Regions from separate parts of the Homo sapiens genome. Here regions 1 and 3 are each linked to region 2. Evidence: promoter capture Hi-C in 16 types of primary human blood cells and fetal thymus (Javierre and others, 2016). All regions are on one chromosome and are shown on one strand. Each heading gives the region's core, a stretch centred on a gene start or on the middle of the fragment in contact. The rest is flanking DNA. Distances are from core to core; before and after follow the strand shown. Region 1 has its middle 14 kb from the start of LINC03004. Region 2 holds the start of IL22RA2 (interleukin 22 receptor subunit alpha 2). Region 3 has its middle 37 kb from the start of LINC03004.

Region 1 (4,279 bases), core at 999-3,498, 510 kb before region 2:
ACTTTGAGAGTCCAAGGTGGGTGGATCACTTGACCCCAGCAGTTTGAGACCAGCATGGGCAAGATGGCAAAACACTGTCTCTATAAAAAAAAAATAGCCAGGCACGTTGGCATGCATCTGTACTCCCAGCTACTTGGGAGGCTGAGGTGGCAGATCACTTGGGCCAGGAGGTCAAGGCTGCAGTGAGCCGTGATTGCGCCACTGCACTCCAAATTGGGTGACTGGGTGAGACCCTGTCTCAAAGAACTAACAAACAAAAACAACCAACCAACCAAACAAACCTAAGGCCAAAAGAGATAAATTATTTGCTCTAAATCATACAATCAACATCAGAGCTGAAACTTGTATTCCTTATTTGCAATGAATTGACTCACAGTGTAGCAATTTCTTTTTTACCTTGAATGATGCTGTATTATAAATCAACAGGGAAGCCAGAGATGCTATGAGAATACACCAACGGATAAGCAATCAGACCACACAGTTTCTAGGATTTCTCTTTCAAATGAAAACATGACTACTTTTTGAACAAAAGGGTTGAACACATTTGAAGAAAATCAATATTGTCTCTATTTCTTAGGTAATGAAACTGATAGCTTTTGAAGAATATGCTATCTTCCAGAGCTAAGAAATTCAAGGTGGGTAATGAGCATACTAGATTTTTAATGTCTAATACATTTAAGACGGTTATATACATTTCCTTTATACTTGGTAAACTATGTCTCTATCTGAACTTATCTTTTTAAAGAATATATAAACACTATATGTAGTCCTGAGAAGCAGCTTGGTACTGTACTACCTATTTGAGAGTAAAAGACATGTGACGTAGGTTTGTGTTTATTGTAAATGTTGAGATTTATGAATTGCTGAGTCATCCTTACCAAGAATCCTGGAAATTAGCGATCTTGATTTGACTGTGATTTCTCCCTGAGGTCAGTTCTAGGTCATTGTATTCTGAGTCTTTCTGCCACTTAGTCATGATGGGAATTAAAGTTGACCTGGATTTCCCCCATTGACATTGCCACTTGATTAGCTCCGAAATATAGAGATTATGAATCCTGTTTCATTCTAGACTTAAGTAGCAGGAAACTTCTGCTTTTCTTCTCAAACATACTCCTTCAAATTTATAGATGTCAGAAATCTCCATAGAATCACAGGGCAGATGTTTCTGGCGTGTGATTCACTCATAGAGACTAGGTGGGTATCATTATAGAAATTTTCACAGGCTCCCAGGGTACTACAAATTAGAGCCATTTCTTACTAATTTCAATCTATTTGGGTGAAGAGCAGTCAGAATTTTTTAAATCTTTTAATCATATGTTTAGAAAAACTTCTTGCAATAATTTCAAACTTACAAAATTTTTTATACAATACATAAAATATTCATATATCCTTTACCCAGATTTCTAAAATTTTTAACATTTTAACCACAATTTAAAAATCATTGTTTTTCTGTTTGCCCATGTCTGTACTCTTTTATATTTTTTGAATCATTTGAGGGGTAAGCCTTTTACACTTTCTTTTACCTCTTAATATTTTCTAATTATTGCCTAAGACTAAGGACATTCTTTATTCTTTATTTATTTATTTATTTTTGAGACAGAATTTCACTCTGTCACCTAGGCTGGAGTACAGTGCTGTGATCTTGGCTCATTGCAACCTCAGTCTCCCAGGTTCAAGCAATTCTCCTGCCTCAGCCTCCTGAGTAGCTGGGATTACAGGTGTGTGCCACCACGCCCAGATAATTTTTGTATTTTTAGTAGAGATGGGGTTTCACCATGTTGGTCAGGCTGGTCTTGAACTCTTGACCTCATGATCCACCCACCTCGGCCTCACAAAGTGCTGGGATTACAGGCGTGAGCCACTGTGCCCAGCCTGGCATTCTCTTACATAACCATAGTACAGTTATCAAATTCAGGACACTTTGATGCAATAGTTTTATGTATATTTTTTCCAATTATCTCAGTAATGTCCTCTATAACTTTTTTACCCTTTCCAGTCCAGAAGCCAGTACAGGACCATGGATTACATTTAGTTGTCTGTTTCTTTAGTCTCTTTTAACCTAGATCAGTTCCTTAGTCTTTCCTTTGCCTTTCATGGCAAAAGCCAGTAGTTTTATGGAATGTTTCTCCATTTGGGTTTGCTGATGTTTCCTCCCTGGCCACAAAACTACATAAACAATTCTGTGTCCTCCTCAGGTATCCCAGGCATAAAATATCCATCTGCTCCTCATTCATTCATTATATTAATTTTGATCACCTGATCAAACTCTTGTTCATTTTCTTCACTATAGAATTTCTATTTTCTCCCTTGCAACTAGTAAGCAATATGTTGAAAGACACTTTAAGCCCATGCAAATATTCTACTCCTCATCACACTTTTCTTCCTAAACTTGATTCTTGCTCTAATTCAAGTTTGCTATAATGGCTGTAAACTGTTGATATTACATGTTTACCCACTCTCTCCACATTTATTGGTAGGTGTTCTTTTGTTCTATAAGAAATGTCTCTCTCCCTCCCCTTTCCTCTCTCTCTCTCTCCCTTTCCTCTTTCTTCTCTCCCCTCTCTCACTTCTCTCCTCTTTGCCTCTCTTCCTCTCTCCCTTCTTCCCTATTATTAGTATGAATATATAGATTCCAATTTTATCCATGGGTTATACTTCATTTTTCTTATTAATGCTTTTTTTTTTTGAGAAGGAGTTTCATTTTTTCCCCCAGGCTACAGTGCACTGGCACAATCTTGGCTCACTTCAACCTCCACCTTCTGGTTTCAAGTGATTTTCCTGCCTCAGCCTCCTGAATAGCTGGGATTACAGGCGCTTACCACCATACCCAGCTAATTTTTGTATTTTTTAGTAGAGACGGGGTTTCACCACTTTGGCCAGGCTGGTCTCGAACTCCTGACCTTGTGATCTGCCCACCTCAGCCTCCCAAAGTGCTGGGATTACAGGCATGAGCCACCATACTCGGCCTTTGTTATTAATACTTTTAATGCTCAGATTGTCACAGACTTGGAAAGTTGGATCCCCTTTAAGCTGGCTCCCTTTTGATATGCTCCCATAATTTTTGTTTAAAACAACACTTTCTTGCTTTCTGGTTCAACAAGATATTTCAGACCCATCAAGTAGCATCCCTGTTCCAGCGCAGGAATCAGCCATTTCTCAAAGGACCTCTCTTTACTTATCATGGGGAATGGTATTTAGAAACCAAAATCTTAGCACTAGATGTTTTCATTGTTACTGAGGGGGTCTGCCTCCAGGCCCTTTTTGAGGATAGAGCTAAGAAAGCTACACACACAGAGATGCATACACACATACACACACACAAAGGCTTGTCTATACATGTCATAGAAATTCTGCAGTTATACTGATACTTTCAATATCAATCCCACTCCACGAGTTTCTTTTTTGCCTTCCCCCCACCCACTCCATCTTTGAATCTCCCTTCTTCCACAATGAGAATTCTGCCTTTCAACAGCATCAGAACACTGACTCATTTTCCCAGTTCTAAAACACACATAAAATCGTTTCAGAATTGCTATACCCAAATCACCATGCATATCAAATCAAATCAAGTAAAAAGAAATTAAGATGCATTTGAAGTTCTTTATTTTTTTCCCTAGAGTAAAAGTATATTATCAAAGTGTTGTCTTTAAAGTTACCTGAATTAGTTCTTTGCCCCTGCAACCCCCACTTCAATGTAGTAATGTTATCCATTTCGTAGAGGTTTATGCAGAGAAGTATCACTGCCTTCTCTATCACTTCTGTCTGATTTTCCCTCACCTTTTGTAGGTAAGTGATTTCATTGTCTTCTGGTTTATTTTTCCTGTGTTTCTTTTTCCAAAAAAGAGCAGACTTGTGTATTTTCTTATTTCTCCTTGCTTACACAAAAGGTAGCATATTGTAGATGCTCTTCTACAATTGGCTTTAAAAAAAAACTTATCTCCTGAAGTTCATAGAAATACTTTTTAGTGAAATTGTGTAGTACTCTGTTGTGTGAAGTACTCCAAGGTATTCAGATAGTTCCCAATATTTTGCTATTACAAATAATGCTGCAGTTAAGAACCTTGTATGTATGTACTTCCTTTTTTTTTTTTTTTTTTTTTTTTTTTTGACAGAGTCTGGCTCTATCTTCCAGGCTGAAGTGCAGTGGCGCAATCTTGGCTCACTGTAACTTCCACCTCCCAGGTTCAAACAATTCTCGTGCCTCAGCCTCCTGCGTAGCTGGGATTACAGGAACATGCTACCACGCCTGGCTAAATTTTTTTGTATTCTTAGTAGAGAT
Region 2 (4,700 bases), core at 238-2,737:
AGCACCATGGGTTGGGAGGAGAGCAGTAGGAAATAAATTTAGAGGTAACAGGACCTGGTTATATAGGGCTTAGTAAGGGACTGGAAAAATGTTGACTTTCAATCTGAGTGAGATGGGAAGGCATCACAGGGTTCTGAATAAAATGTTCTATTCTGACATTTAATAGGAACACTCCACCTGATGCAGAGAACAGTGACAGAGGCAGGCAGACCAGTAAGGAGGCTGTGGCCACAGTCCACACAAGAGATGATGATAGCAGGTTACCAAATGGGTACAGTGGAGGAGGTGAAAACCAGTTGGATTCTGGTTATGCCATGAAGATATTTTCAGGATCAAACAATACATACAAACATACTGGTGCATGGGCATAATGATTGATGATATCTGGTAGGGGTTTCAAGGTGACCTTGGGTGAAGAATAATCAAAGCTACATATTGGGTACAATGTACATTACTCGGGTAAGAGATGCAATAATATCTCAGACTTCACCACTGTGCAATCCATCCAGGTAACCAAAAACCACTTGCACTATTGCACAGCTACTGAAATAAAAAAAATACATATTTTTTAAATGTTACCACTCCTTTATGTTTTGGTTTTCAGAAATAAATTTTAAAAAATTTTTTAAAGAATAATCAAAGCAAAATCAATAGCATCTTTTATCCAGAAAAATAAGAGTGAAGAGCAGGAAAGGTTAACCTCATTAAGCCCTATGTCCTATGAGTGGAGATTTTAAATAATATATTAGTGATCACAGTCCAAAAACTCAGATTAGTCATTGTGCTTATCACCTGTGTTTGAATAACAATGTTTCTTTTTCTTTTCTGAATTCAAGTTCACAAACCATTTTGAATTTTTGCATGCCAATTATTTCCAGAATGCCGAACTGCTTAAAGGACATGAATATTACTCGGTGGAGCTATTAATGTCCCAGCAAATAAGAAAGAACAAGTTGTTTCCCTGTTGTTGGCTCTACAGCTCTATAGTTTTCCAGAGAGGGAGAAGGGTGGTGTTCAGATTATCATTCATGATGAAACTTTTAAAAGATGCTCAGCTGCCCACCAAATCATAGGATGAAGGAAAGGGCCTAGCAGAAACACAGTTGCTCTGACTTCCCTTCAATGGACAGCACCAAAGTCATACTGAACACCAGTTTTTAAACACTTCTCTGAAAAACAATAAGAAACACTTAGCCCTTTGCTACCAAGACCTGGTTGAAGAAAATGCTGTTGGTTCCCTGAGGGCTGGCTCTGTAGTCTTGTTCATTTCTGCATCCCCGATGTCTAACACAGTGCCTGGCATATAACAGTTGCTCAATAAACATTTGTTTGACTGAATAAACGATTCGAGAAGCCAATGGACAAATGTTCTTTGACATCATTCTATCCCTTTATGGAATGTCTATTACAAGCAAAGAATAACACAAGAGGAGTTTCATAATACTCCTCAGGCCCTGAGGCTAACCAGATCTGATTTCAGCCCTCACTTTACCACTACTCGCTATAGAGCCCTGGTCAAGTTCTCTCCACCTCTCTATCTATGTCTCAGTTTCTTCATCTGTAACATCAAATGAATAATAATACCAATCTCCTAGACTTCATAAGAGGATTAACAAAGACAAAATATGGGAAAAACATAACATGGCGTCCCATAATTATTAGATCTTATTATTGACACTAAAATGGCATTAAAATTACCAAAAGGAAGACAGCATCTGGTAAGTAAACTTTATTTATTTATTTATTTATTTTTTTGAGATGGACTCTCGCTTTATCGCTGCCCAGACTGGAGCGCAGTGGCGCGATCTCGGCTCACTGCAAACCTCACCTCCTTGACTCAAGCAATTCTCCTGCCTCAGCCCCACTGAGTAGCTGGGATTACAGGCACACACCGTCACGCCTGGCTAATTTTTGTATTTTTAGTACAGACGGGGTTGCACCATGTTGGCCAGGCTGGTCTGGAACTCCACACCTCAAATGATCCACCCACCTCCGCCTTCCAAAGTGCTGAGATTACAGGTGTGAGCCACCGTGTCTGGCCACATCTTGTAGATAAACTTTAAAAATCTTTTTTCTTTGTTATGAACAATTTTAAGTACATACAAAAGTAGAGTATAATAAACCTGACACCCAATTTCAACAGTTATCAGCTCATGGATGGTAACCCCCTTTCCCAGGCCTTTGTATTATTTTGAAGCAAATCCCAGACATGACACCATTTCATCTGTAGTACTATAATAGGTAGCTCTAAAAAAAAATAAAAATAATAACCAAAATTCCACATCACACCTAAAAACAATGAAAAATGATTCCTTAATTAGATAAATGGTTGGTCTGCTGGAAGCCACAAGAAGAAAGGAAGAAGAGAATCAAATCTGTTCAAGACAGGGGCTTAAGCAAGTTCTCTCCAGAGTCAACACGATGATGGAAATACCCGTTGTCACCGTCAAGGTGGACTCTCCCTGCTGCGGAGTGGGGCCGAGGTCGGGGGAGGGCAGGGAATGAAGCCAGCATTTCATGCCTGAAAGGAGGCAGAGCGGAGATCCCCTAGTGACTAAAACTTTCTTACTTCCCAAACAAAACAGCATTTCATTTGAAACAATTCTGTACAAATTCTTCTGCTTCCAGATTGATGGGAAATTAGAATTTAATTTTATCTTTTCATCTACCTTGAGGCCTTGTTGACAGTGTTGGCTTTTATGCAGGTTCTATTACACAACTAGAGCTAATTGAACAGTGACAGAACTGGTCTGGTTTGTGAAATTTAATAGAGCACCAAAGCTCACGTTTTGGGGAGAATTCAGTTCTTAAATATGTTTTGCTTATCCCACTCCGCCTAATTTCCCCTCATTTGTTTGACAAAGTCAGCAACCCAGTGGAAACCTCAATTTCGTTCTCTGCTGCTCTCATCATAAAACCTCGAATTTAAATATTTTCCTTTTATTCTTAGCTGGAACTTGGAGCAATTTGGTGGCTTCAAAATGAGATCTATTGGTATTGAAGCCATTGAACATCAATAGTGCAAACCCACATTATCATCCCCCATTTAAATACCAAAGTAAATGTGAAGTGGTAAACATTAGCAGGGAAGTGAATAACAATGCTGAGAAGGTTGCAAGCTAAGGAGCATGAAGAGGTGAAAAGGGAACATAAAACGTGCTGCATGTTTCTTCTTTCAAAGCAGAAGCTACCTTATAAGCACCAAAAACTTCAGCTGGAGGAGATACAAGCCTGGATTCAGAAGACTGCCGTAGAACAGAGGCACTGGGAAACCTGATGTTATCCACACAAACCTTTCCACATAGGGCTGGCCTCAGAAAGCATGCAGCGCAACTGCCCTCCAATAACTGAAATTTGTTAAATGAAAATTGATAGTGGCCTGGTCCACTGGGATCTGGTTTCTGAGGAAATTTCTGATAAGCTCTCTTCTAAGACCCTTTGCTCAGGAATAAGGTTTTCCCTGCGTGGCCCCAGCTCCACCCAAGGCCTCACAGTCTCAGGCACCCGAGTGTCTAGAAATGTTCACAGGTGCTGGGTCATGGGGTTGGGATGGAGGGTCTACACTTGAGAACAACTCCTCTGCTCCTGTCTGTATGCAGAAGGCCATTCTTCCCTTTCTCTTTGAAGACTCTGCCTCCTCCACATCAGCAGCACCCAACCCTCTCCTTTTAGCACTTTCATTTTACCTGCTTCCCCTCCTACATTCTAGTCTTGGTTAATGGTTGTGATGGAGGGTGGGAGGCAAAGTGGCTTTGCAAGCCGGCTTCTGAAACTTTTCATCTCCCATTTAAGAAGGAGAAGAAAAAGACAGAGAAGGTTAGATGAATAGAAGTTGTAACCCTGCTGTAGCTCCTTATTCTCTACTTTTCCCTTGAGAAGCAAGCTTAAGGAAGGCAGGGGCAATGTCTCTCTTATCTGCTGCTGCATCCTTGCTGCTGAGACTAATTCCTAGTTTATGGTAGGACAGCAAATATTTGTGAAATGTTATTGGATAGCTGCATGGATGGATACTGCTTAGCAGCCATCATTATTCCTTACTAAAGGAGCTATTCTACCAAGAACTTGAAAGAGACTATACAAGAGAAAATAGAAACCAGTATACATTTCCCCTTTTGATCTAAAGAGCCTCTCTTTTTAACAACAACAAAAAAACCTTTATGACTTGCGGAGGCTGAAGCAACTTCATTTTTAGATGCTAATCTGCCATGTTGACTTCTGATTAATCCTTTTTCAGGAAGGCTTCTAAGATTTCTAGTTTATCGATTGTTCCTTGTATGAGAACACATACTTGTCATAAGTCCTGCCTGTACGTCAAAACCACCTTGATGTTATGATACTTCAATTGTCATATACATCCCTTCTGAATCACGCAGGCCCTTTCCCGGTGGTATGTAAGCCCTGGGTCTGTTGCGGGATGATCAAAGACTGAAGAGACCGAAAGTTCAGGAAAGTTTATTAAATTAAGGTGATCACCGGCTCAGCTAGTCTGAGCCCCAAACAAAGGGCTTTTCCTACTTTTAAATATCTTAAGGTGGGAACTACGTGAGGCGGGAATCGAGTTACAGAAGCAAGAAACAAAGGCAGTATTACAACGTTTGTTACATTTTGAGAAAGACATGTCTTGCAGCCTAAACTTATCAGTCTTGTGACCCTGCAGTCATGCAGGAACTCACTGGGCCTGTAATAAACTTTGAGGAATG
Region 3 (4,264 bases), core at 1,095-3,594, 460 kb before region 2:
CGTTATTTTGTGTCTTTCTTAATAGGTAGCTTTATGAAGCAAGCAATACATCAGCAAACAGATCTTGAGCACTTCCTTTCTATAGTGTACTTTAGTCATCTCTAAAAAATAATCTGATAGAACTGTTGCTTTCAGCTCACTATCACAGCAAACAATTGCAGCTCACCCTGATAAAGATAGCTGCAAATGGAATTTCCTGGACTCCACCTGTCTTCTGAGGCTTTCAGCTGTCTATGCCATATCCTCTCACATCCAGACACAAGAGTAGAGGCTGGAGCATTGTCACAGCACCTTAGGACCTTCCACGTCCTGCCTAAGTATTTCACTGACCACTGTGAGCCCAGGAATTGCCAAGGGAGCAAGTCCAACCACAGCTGCAGCAGAGTGCACTGACAGGGCAGGCCCATAATGGGCACTTGCCCATCTGTTGTGCAGTTAGTTTTTGGCCTTTTTAATAGAGTAGTGTTAGAAACATTGTAACAACTGAACATCCACACCTAAGGGGTCAGAGATGGCCTCATTAATAGGGGACCCTAAGGCAGCCCTTACTTGAAACTCTCCAAGAGAGATATACGTGTATTTTCTGTCCTTCAGAAAATGCAATTTTTTTCTGGACACATTTCTAATGATTTCACTTAATAACCACGTTTTATGTAGCTTTGAATTACTAGAGCTATCTAGTTATTATGAACCACAGGATACGATGTCAGAATCTCAAAGCACAAGAGAAATAGGACTAACTAACTTATACAAAGTAATTTGGAATTTGCAAAGTACTTTCACACTCATTAGCTCAATTTTTTTTTTTGAGATGTAGCCTTGCTCTGTTGCCCAGGCTGGTGTGCAGTGGTGCGGTCTCAGCTCACTGCAGCCTCTGCCTCCCGGGTTCAAGTGATTCTCCTGCCTAGCCTCCCGAGTAGCTGGGACTACAGGTGTGCACTGCCGTGCCTGGATACATTTGCTTTTGTAATTTTGGTAGAGACAGGGTTTCACCATGTTGGCCAGGCTGGTCTCAAACTCCTGACCCCAAGTGATCTGCCCGCCTCAGCCTCCCAAAGTGCTAGGCATAAGGTACCGCACCTGGCCCATTAGCTCAATCTCGCTGATGGTTTTGGACATTGTTCTGGCAAAAAAAGATGAGGCCTAGAAGTGCTACCTCAAACAAATGATTTCAGAATTAAAATGAGGCAATATTTTAAGTACTTTCTACTCCTGCATGGGCAAAGTCATTTTTTTTGATACAAATATTTTCTGTCTTTTGGAGAACCCTCTATAGCAGTGGCTCCCAACCTTTTTGGCACCAGGGAGTAGTATCGTGGAAGACAATTTTTCCGTGGAAGTGGGTTTGGGGAGGGGATGGTTTTGGGGTGAAACTGTTCCCACCTCAGATCGCCAGGCACTAGATTCTTATAAGTAGCCGGCAACCTAGATCCGCCGTTCACAATAGGGTTCATGCTCCTATGAGAATCCAATGGCCCCACTGATCTGACTGGAGGCGTGGAGCACAGGCGGTAATGCTCACCCACCCACGGCTCACCTCTTGCTGTGAGGCCTGTTCCTGACAGGCCACAGACCAGTATGGATCCATGGTCCCGGGGGTTGAGGACCCTTGCTCTGTAGCATACATTTGAGATCTCGTCTTATTCTAATTGTTGCAAGCAATACAACATCAGAATTTCTGGTTATGGAGTCTTGGGCCTCTTTTTACTGATTTGGAAGGAAATTTTCAAAATTTGCCTAGTTAAGCAGTTGACTCCTTTTGCTTTAGTGAGCTCAGTCTTATTATATCCAGTGTTCTTGCTATATCTCTTGATAATGAGGCTTTATACATATATATATATACACACACACACACAATCATACATACGTGTATAATGATACCTGTATATATGTATAATAATAATGAAGCTTTGTATATAAAGCCTTATCATATAAAGCCTGTGTGTGTGTATATATGTGTGTGTATATATATATATACACACATACACATACATATATATATATACACATACACATACATATATATATACACACATACTGACAGGCCACAGACCATATATATATATGTGTGTGTGTGTGTATATATGTGTGTGTGTATATATATATATATACACATACACATACATATATATATACACATACACATACATATATATACACACACATACTGACAGGCCACAGACCATATATGTATATGTGTGTGTATATAATGTGTACACACACACGTACACATTACTATATATATATAGTGACAGTGTAATTTATTTATAGAGACATTTAAACTCCATGACATGGACAAGCCCAAAGCTATGGTTCTCTCTACAATGAGCCTATTTACATTTTCCTTATACAAGAGAAACTTTCTAAAGATCTTCTTTACTTTTTTTTTTTTTTGAGGCGGAGTCTCACTCTATTGCCCAGGCTGGAGTACAGTGGCGCAGTCTTGGCTCACTGCAAGCTCCGCCTCCCGGGTTCACACCATTCTCCTGCCTCAGCCTCCCAAGTAGCTGGGACTACAGGTGCCCGCCACCACGCCCGGTTAATTTTTTTTGTATTTTTAGTAGAGACGGGGTTTCACCGTATTAGCCAGGATGGTCTCGATCTCCTGACCTCATGATCCGCGCGCCTCGGCCTCCCAAAGTGCTGGGATTACAGGCATGAGCCACCGCGCCTGGCTGACCTTCTTTACTCTTAATCCTAGGACCATACCTAGTGTAAAATTTTTTTAATTAGAGAAAATCCTGAAATTTTCAAAAATGTAAAAACAAATCTAAAGCTTTAGGTCTGCCTAATCCAAAATGAATTCCACTTTAACATGTGCCATTTCATGGAAAAATAACTGGGTCCTTTTTATTTTAGACATAAGCAAGTATCTTTCTAGAGTTAGGAACTCAAAATAATGGCAGTAAAACGCATTTATTCAGATTCTTACTGAATAGCTACTATTCCCAACATTATGCTGGGGTGACAATATGAAAGAAGGCACAGTCCCTCGTAGTGTTTGGTCTAGTGGAAGAGGAAGATGATTGAGCTCTTCACTTGTAACAGAATAGACTCCTGCCAAAACTCTAGAGCCTAGGGGCAGGACAAACTATGGATTTTTCATGCAATAATAATAATAATACTCTATATTACTATATAAATACATATATATCCATACATACATTAGTATACTATACTTGACATTACTACATATGCATATATATCCTTGTATATACTCTAACATTACTATATATACATACACAAATAAAACTATATATACATATATAAAGATACATATATACACACATTAGTATACCATATTTGACATTACTACATAGTCACATATTTTCTTACATATACTGTAACATTACTATGTATACATATATAAGGATATACATGTCTACATACATGTATAAGAATATATATGTATATGTAGTAATGACAAGTATAGTATACTAATGTGTGCACATATGTATATGTATTTACATAGTAATATCAAGTATTATTATTATTGCATGAAAAATCTATAACTTGTATGCAGATATATTTCTATGTGTCTGTATAGACACATATCTGTGTGTATATGTGTGTGTGTATGTGTATGTGTGTGTGTGTGTTTGTGTATGTGTATATATAAAAAATATATATATATAGTTATCTTTTCCTCGATTTCTAATACATAACTTGGCATAGGGCAAAATCTCAATAAATATTTCCTGAGTTAATAAGCTAAAGAAATGTTATTTGATTTGAAGACTAAAAGAATCCCTAGCACATGAAGGGCTTTAAAATAAAAGAGAGGGAGAGTCTGGGTCTCACTCTATTTGTCGTTTAGGACTCAAATCTTTGGATGCCTTCTAATATATTGCCCATGGGGTATCATCTTTATGATGCGGATCTTACTCCTTAGCTTCTTCCTTTCAATTCAGTTTAGGAAATATCTTTTGAATAACTACTGTGTGCTAGACAATGATAAGTACTGAGATATAAAAATGGTTTCAGTAAGGAGGAAACTCAAATATAATGTGGAAATAAAAGTATGTGACCCTAAGGATGCAGATTGTATTTTGTTCATCTTTTTATCTCCAATGCCATGGCAGATAGCTGGTTGAAGGTTGTCAGATGAATGGATACATGGATAGAGGAATTAAGACTTAAAAGACAGCAGTAATAAGGGAATAATTCTCATTTGATTTATGTGTGAGGGAGAAAGGGCTTAGTCTTGAAAGACTGCAAATTGGAGATGACAGTTGAACTTGGGTTTGAAGATGAGAAGAAGCTC

What was found. The method cuts DNA at HindIII sites, captures the fragments that hold promoters and counts their contacts. A CHiCAGO score of 5 or more calls a contact.
Region 1: a contact is called between a fragment that was not itself captured here and the fragment with the promoter of IL22RA2 in region 2, in 1 of 17 cell types (monocytes). The highest score is 5.4, in monocytes.
Region 3: a fragment that was not itself captured here is called in contact with the fragment with the promoter of IL22RA2 in region 2 in 1 of 17 cell types (total CD4 T cells); the score reaches 5.9 in total CD4 T cells.

The regions. Positions count from the first base shown.
Region 1 is chr6:137,677,758-137,682,036 of GRCh38, reverse strand. No RefSeq gene overlaps it. Among named protein-coding and RNA genes, the nearest start is that of LINC03004, 14 kb to the right of the region's middle. RefSeq lists an enhancer at 1-1,044. The HindIII fragment of the contact is 4,653 bases long and covers 1-4,279 here.
Region 2 is chr6:137,170,431-137,175,130 of GRCh38, reverse strand. IL22RA2 (interleukin 22 receptor subunit alpha 2) reads left to right here and starts at 1,487. Exons shown (of 7, transcript NM_052962.3): 1 at 1,487-1,718. RefSeq lists enhancers at 2,513-2,732, 2,629-3,387. The HindIII fragment of the contact is 14,362 bases long and covers 1-3,885 here.
Region 3 is chr6:137,626,909-137,631,172 of GRCh38, reverse strand. No RefSeq gene overlaps it. Among named protein-coding and RNA genes, the nearest start is that of LINC03004, 37 kb to the left of the region's middle. The HindIII fragment of the contact is 868 bases long and covers 1,911-2,778 here.